Regions from separate parts of the Homo sapiens genome. Here region 1 is linked to region 2. Evidence: promoter capture Hi-C in human tissues and cell types (Jung and others, 2019). All regions are on one chromosome and are shown on one strand. Each heading gives the region's core, a stretch centred on a gene start or on the middle of the fragment in contact. The rest is flanking DNA. Distances are from core to core; before and after follow the strand shown. Region 1 holds the start of SPAG9 (sperm associated antigen 9). Region 2 holds the start of MYCBPAP (MYCBP associated protein).

What was found. The method cuts DNA at HindIII sites, captures the fragments that hold promoters and counts their contacts. A contact is called where the count stands out against the background at its distance.
Region 1: the fragment with the promoter of SPAG9 here is called in contact with the fragment with the promoter of MYCBPAP in region 2 in 1 of the 25 tissues and cell types used here (neural progenitor cells).

The regions. Positions count from the first base shown.
Region 1 is chr17:51,119,495-51,122,745 of GRCh38, reverse strand. SPAG9 (sperm associated antigen 9) reads left to right here and starts at 1,878. Exons shown (of 30, transcript NM_001130528.3): 1 at 1,878-2,392. The coding sequence starts at 2,090. RefSeq lists enhancers at 527-786, 1,396-1,625, 1,142-1,956, 2,246-2,365 and silencers at 1,766-2,145, 2,396-2,475, 2,496-2,625. The HindIII fragment of the contact is 17,249 bases long and covers 1-3,251 here.
Region 2 is chr17:50,506,244-50,509,688 of GRCh38, reverse strand. MYCBPAP (MYCBP associated protein) reads right to left here and starts at 1,250. Exons shown (of 19, transcript NM_032133.6): 1 at 939-1,250. The coding sequence starts at 1,014. RefSeq lists enhancers at 1,025-1,154, 1,175-1,234 and a silencer at 1,255-1,544. The HindIII fragment of the contact is 18,604 bases long and covers 1-3,445 here.

The DNA.
Region 1 (3,251 bases), core at 629-3,128, 610 kb before region 2:
CACCCGCCTCGGCCTCCCAAAGTGCTGGGTTACAGGCATGAGTCACCACGCCCGGCTGATACTTTTTTCTTTAAATTTTTTGATGTGTATGATAATATTGTGGAAAGAAAAAGTAAAGCCTTGCCCTATGTTTTTTGGCTCTTCTGATCCCCCAGGAAAAGAGAGGCATGCATATAGGTAGACCAGGTGAGTGACAGCCCTCAGGAAGAGAAAATAAAAGAGGAGAGATTCAGATCAAGACTTTTTCTAGTTTTCAAATATGAAAGGTTAAGAAGAGAAAGGGCATTTGCGGCTCACAGCCAACCAGCTGGTCGGCATTCCTACTACCCAAATATCTAAATGACATAAGGGTGAATGTGGGGTGAGGGTGAGAACGGGAAAAAACACAGGCCGCAAATTCAGTCCCATCTGGCACTTCATAAGACTTAGTATTTTCATCTTTGTCCTTCCAAATTTATAGGTTTACTCTTGCCCAACCTTCATATTGTTTTTATGGGTCTCCAGGTGGGTCATGCGTAGGAAACTTTAGGGGACTACTTCATACTTGGTGGGAAGTACTTAAACTTGTAAACCCCAAGCTAAGGGTAGTTATGATCCCGGTGGGTGGCCAATTCTCCCCTTAAACCTATGTTTATCCTGCCTTTCCTCCCCCTTTTCTTAAACGAGTCGGGACGGAGAGCTGAGTCACCTGAGACACAGAGAAGGGACTTTTGAGAGTGTCTTCCGTCCCATTTGCGGACGTTAGATGAGCACACCGGGATCCTTGACTCAGCCCGCTCTAGGCGTGGGCGTTGTGTCATTCCCCACACGTGACACTCTCCCAGGCGGCAGAAACCTCACTTGTCATGGGACTTATTCACTCCAGTGACTCCACCCCTTACCTCCTCTGTTCCCCAACCTCCCACTTACCCTTTCCGCCCCACTTCAAGACTTGAGGAGAGGAGGGTGGCTGGAGCCTGGAAATGTCCCCGTCCCAAGTTGGCCAGAAGTAGCAGACACACTATGTGGGAAAGTGCCACATGTAACGTTCCAGTTTCACCCTTCTCCAGAATGCTATCACCCTTCCTGTTTATTTTTTAATAACTTGAGATATAATTCACACGCCATATGATTCACTCACTTAACGTGTAAAGTTGAATGTCTTTTAGCATATTTAGAGTTGTGTATTCATCACTATAATACATTTTTTAGAACATTTTTATTATCCCAAAACGAAATCCCATACCTATTAGCAGTCACTCCCATTTCCCCTCATCTCACCCTTGCTCTTCCATAGCACAAAACAGTTCTATTCTATTCGAGACCACCTTTCCACTTGGGCAGACCCTGGTTATGGTTTTTTTTCCCTCCCTTTCTGTTTCCAGTTTTTTTCGGAGCCCGGAATTCTCAATCTGGGTAATTGGTTTGAGTCCCGGCTCAGCCCGTTTCCCGTTGTAGCTGCGTGACCTTGAGAGCAACGCCACTTTCCTGGGCCTAGTTTCTTTGTCTGTGAAACGAGGTCCAAATATCTACCTCTTTACGCCTGTTGTGGGGATGAAGTGAGTAGGTGCTTTGTGAGCTTTAAAAAGCCATAGAAATGCCAGCTAAGTTAACTCGTCACTCTTCCCGAACCCCTCCCTTTCCCCTGGGACCCGCCCCGCGAATCCCGCTGTGGATGGATACTTCTCCCCACCCGCCGACCGCAGTCTTTCCCATTGGCGCCCGCACCGTCTTCGCGGCGCCGGGTGTTGACGCCATGGCTTCCTCCGCCAGCGCCCGAAGACGCTTGGCCCCGCCCCCGGCCGCGCCTGGCCTCCCGCGGCGCCCCGCCCATCGGGCCGACGCGGCGCCGGCCCCGCCCCGCGGATGACGTGTGGCGCGCGCGGCCGGGCCGCCCCGGCAGTTGGTGCAGCGGCGGTTGGGGTGAGAGCGCCTACGCCACCCCTCCCCTCCTCCGGCCCCGGCCCCCACCCCGCCGGGCCCAGCCCCAGCCCCGGCCCGGGCTCCAGCCCTAGTACCCGTCCCAGCCCGAGTCGGGTCCGTCCCGTGCGGGCAGGTGCCGCCCCTCTGCCGGCGACGCCCCGGGCCGCCCGCCCGTCCGCTTGCCACCATGGAGCTGGAGGACGGTGTGGTGTATCAGGAGGAGCCCGGCGGCTCCGGGGCCGTGATGTCGGAGCGGGTGTCCGGCCTGGCCGGCTCCATCTACCGCGAGTTCGAGCGGCTTATCGGGCGCTATGACGAGGAGGTGGTCAAAGAGCTGATGCCGCTGGTGGTGGCTGTGCTGGAGAACCTGGACTCGGTGTTCGCGCAGGACCAGGAGCACCAGGTGGAGCTGGAGCTGCTGCGGGACGACAACGAGCAGCTCATCACCCAGTACGAGCGGGAGAAGGCGCTGCGCAAGCACGCTGAGGAGGTGAGGCCGGCGGCAGGGCGGGGGCCGCGGGATCCGTCTCCGGGGGCGGCCGGGGCGGGGTCGCGGCCCGGTCGGGGACTAGAGGCGCGACGGGCCTCCTGGAGGGCGGGCCTGAGGCCGATGCCCCCTGGGACCGATCCCGGCGGCCTCCAGGTACCCCGGGAGCCAGGCCGGCGTTGGAAGCCGAGGCCGGCTACTGAGTGTCCTGGGAAGGGAGCGAGATGGAGGAGGCAGGGCCCGGGGAGGAAGCGGCAGCCTGGCCTGAGGACACCTGGGGTTGGCCAAGGGCGGAGATTGTTGGGTGTCTGGTTGCTTCTTGTTGAGGGAAGTTTCCGACCACCGTGGGATAGTCAGATGGCGGTTCAAAGTTTTACCCTTGGGGAGGGGGACACTTCTGCCCTGGATATGTAACTTCCGCTAGTTCCAGTACCTTTCCAGGGGGTTGCCTTGCTTTGGGAAGTTAGAGATCTCCCTCTTTCGGTCAGTTTCTTCTTGACGTTTTAATCTTGTTGAGAAAGACGTCTTATTTTATGTTCTATGTGCCTTGGTTGACACTTTGTCAACTTTTAGATGTTGTGTGGCAGTACTCAATAAATATATAAACAATTTCGTTGGTATCCCAAACCAAAGCATTCCTCCGTATCAGGTTGTAACCTTGGACAGTTCCCTTCAAAAACCCTCCGTTTATTTATAAAAAGGATTGGGGGGCGGGGTTGGGAAGATGTAGGTGACAGTTGGCAACACTTTTTCCGTCTGAGTTTCCTTCTTAGACTGCTGTTTATACGTGCATTTGGCCACCTGTTAACTCTAGCACCCGAGCAGTGACCTGGGCGCCCTCACCTCGACTCTGTGAACCTTT
Region 2 (3,445 bases), core at 1-2,500:
CGCAGTGGTCCATGCCTGGAATCCTAGCAGTCTGTGAGGCCGAGGCAGGAGGATCGCTTGAGGCCAAGAATTTGACACTAGCTGGGGCAACACAGCGAGAGCCCTGTTTACAAACACACACACACACACACACACACACACACACACACACAGAAAAAAAAAGCTAAAAATTAAATTTAAAAATAAATAAATGGAAACAGCCAAAAAAGATCAAAAGGGGGTGGGTTGCAAGTGAGAACATGTCCATGGAAGTCAGTCCGCTATCAGACGCCCTGTGGCTCTCCCAGGTGCAACCAGAAGAAAGCTGTAGAGGGTAGGAAGCAGTCATATCTAGCGATTCTTTCCAGGCTAAAGGAGCTGGATAAGTGTCATCCAGCTGGAAAGTGCACGTGGTAGGAAAAGGCAGTCAAAAAGAGAACTAGCCAAGCAAGGCCTTTCTTCTGGGTTTTTCCAGCAGGAATCCTAAGTGACGCCTGCCCCGCTCCCCGACCCTCCTCTACCAAATAATCCCATCAAGGTGGCTGGTTTCAACACTTCATTCTTTCCTCTTCCCAAGGACCCCAATTCCTGGCCCTTCTACCCTTAAACTCTTTCCTGGCTCTTCTGCACTTCATCCAGTCCGGGGATCCTGCCTCCTGCATGCCACCCTAAGATGTGGTTAGAGGTAGCGCAAGGCCATCTCCCCAGCCAGTGGTCCCTGAGGCCCCTCTGTCAGTCTCCCACTTCCTATGTCCCCATCCCCAAGGCCCAGTGCGCTGTAGGCTCTTCCTGCCTTGCCCCCCATCCCTAAGGGTCCTATGCCCAGTACCCCACTTCCCCGTGATCTTTCCTCCATCCCTGGTGCCATCCCCATCCTCCAGGCCCCGTGTCCTGAACTCTTTCCGGGGACCGCTTCCCCTCTCGGGTTCTCCCGAGCGCCCAAGGCAGCCAGCGCCAACCTTTGACATTCTCTGAGGCCTCTAATAATCTGGTCGGAGTTATTCTGAGGCGGGAATCCTTCTTTAGAGACTTCATGGTGCCGCCCGGCACCATGAAACGTTGCCCTGCACCGCCGGCCCAGAGACACCGAGGCTGCGCCGCACCCGCCAGCCAACGGCCGCCACTGCGTCCACAGCAACCGGTGCCCCGCGCGGGGGCGCGCATCCACCGATCAACTTGGGCGGAGACGGCTTGGAAACCTCCTTCTTCATCGGGCCGCGCACGCGCCCGCCGCCGGCGGCTTCAAGAGCGACGGACCCCTAGAAAGCCCTGCGGGCCCGGCCTGTGACGCCACAGGCGGCGCCGACGAGCGCCGTGACGTCACCAGCCGGGCGGGGCGGGGCGGGGGACCCGGGCGAGGACCCCCGCGAGTTGCGGGAGCCGAGGGCTGGGTGGGAGTGGCTGGCTGGTAGGGGTGCATGACCCGCCTCGCCCCGCCCTGCTGCTAGGCCACGGGGGGCGGGTGGGGCGTCGGGGGTGCCAGCCCCTGCTTCCCGCCTTCCTCGACTAAGGCCACATCCTGTCGAGGGACCTCCCTCTGCCCCCCTCACAGCGGTTCTGGGGGGGGATCGGGCCTTTCAGGACGTGCTGAAACCCCTTCGTGGCGTACCGTAGGTTTTAGGTGTCCCTGCCTGCCGTCCCCAACTCGCACCAACGCGCCTGGAGACCTCCCGGGTCCACGCTCGCTGCAGCCACTTTGGCCTTTCATCACTTCCCAAACCAGCCAAAACTTTTGCCCTGACTTGGGGCATTCTCACAGTCCTTGGAGATGCTGCCTCTGATTATTTTAAGTTTATAAACGCACCCGCTTTTTTCGCCTTCCCCTGGAGCCCTGAGGCATTCTGGGATTATTTCGGTTTTTTGTGTAGTTGCCTATTGTCAAACTGGCTCTCAGAATGTATGAGAGCAGGAGCTGCCTCAGGCCCTGCCCCCAACCCAAAGTTTAGCACTAGTAGTCAGGCAGTAAATTGTACCTCAAATAGTGAAGGGGTTCTAGAGCCAGACAATTGGGTTCTAATCCCAGCTATGTCGGCTTGTTAGCTGTGTGTTCTTGAGCCAATGCCTTGACCTAGAGAGCCGGTTTTCTCTGCTGGGCACAGTGGTTCAGGCCTACAATCCTAGTGCTTTAGAAGGCTGAGGCAGGAGGATTGGTTGAGGCCAGGAGTTCAAAATTGACCTGAGCAACGTAGGGAGACTCCATTCTAAAAAAAAAAAAAAATTTTTTTTTTTTTTTTTTTGAGACGGAGTCTTGCTCTGTGCCCAAGCTGGAGTGTAGTGGTGCCATCTCGGCTCACTGCAACCTCTGCCTCCCAGGTTCAAGCGATTCTCCTGCCTCAGCCTCCTGAGTAGCTGGGATTACAGACGAGTGCCACCATGCCTGGCTAAGTTTTGTATTTTTAGTAGAGATGGGGTTTCACCAGTTGGTCAGGCTGGTCTCGAACTCCTGACCTCGTGATCTGCCCGCCTCGGCCTCCCAAAGTGCTAGGATTACAGGCGTGAGCCACCGTGCCTAGCCTAAAAAAATTTTTTTTTAATTAGCTGGCTTTGGTGGCCCACACCTGTAGTCTTAGCTACTCTGGAGGCTAAGGCAGGAAGATTGCTTGAGCCCAGGAGGTCCAGGCTGCAGTGAGCTCTGATTGCACCACTGTACTCCAGCCTGGGCAACAAAGTGAGATCCCCATCTCATACATCCATACATACATATATACATACATAAAATGGAGGTCATAATGCTGCTCTCACAAGGCCACTGCCAGGGTTAAATGAATATGTATGTATTTCTTTTTCTTAGCGAGTATCTCACTCTGTTGCCCAGGTTGGAGTGCAGTGGCACAATCATAGCTCACTGCAGCTTCAAACTCCTGAGCTTAAATGATCCTGCTGCCTTAGCCTTCCGAGTAGCTGGGACTACAGGCATGTGCCACTGCACCCAGCTAATTATTAAATTTTTTGTAGAGACAGGGTCTTGCTATGTTGTTCAGGCTGGTCTTGAACTCGTGGGCTTAAGCGATCCTCCCGCCTTGGCCTCTCAAAGTGTTGGGATTACAAGCATGAGCCACCTCACCTGGCCTGAGTGTGCATTTAAACTACGAAACAGGGTGCCCTCCATAAACTGTAGTATCTTCTCAGTCAATTCTCAAAATCATGCTGGGGTTGAAGGGAGGGGACACATTATAAGCCCATTTTACAAACGGAGAAACTGAGCTCCAGAGAGAAGGGTGTAATGTCACCTGACTAGCGGGAAGCACAAATTGAACCTGGTTTTCTAAAGTCCAAGGCCAGGGCTCTTTGAACCCTGTCTCCTGGGACATTTCTGAGTTTGCAAGAGCTGCCCCAGACAGCGGAGGAGCTAGAGACGATGCCAGCAGTGCTGGTGAATCCCTGAGTTCCCTGTGTGTTGCCCGTTGCTGGGTCCTGCTCCAGGGCCATGGCCCCTTCTTCACACTGCTCTAGACCTTGCTCTCCT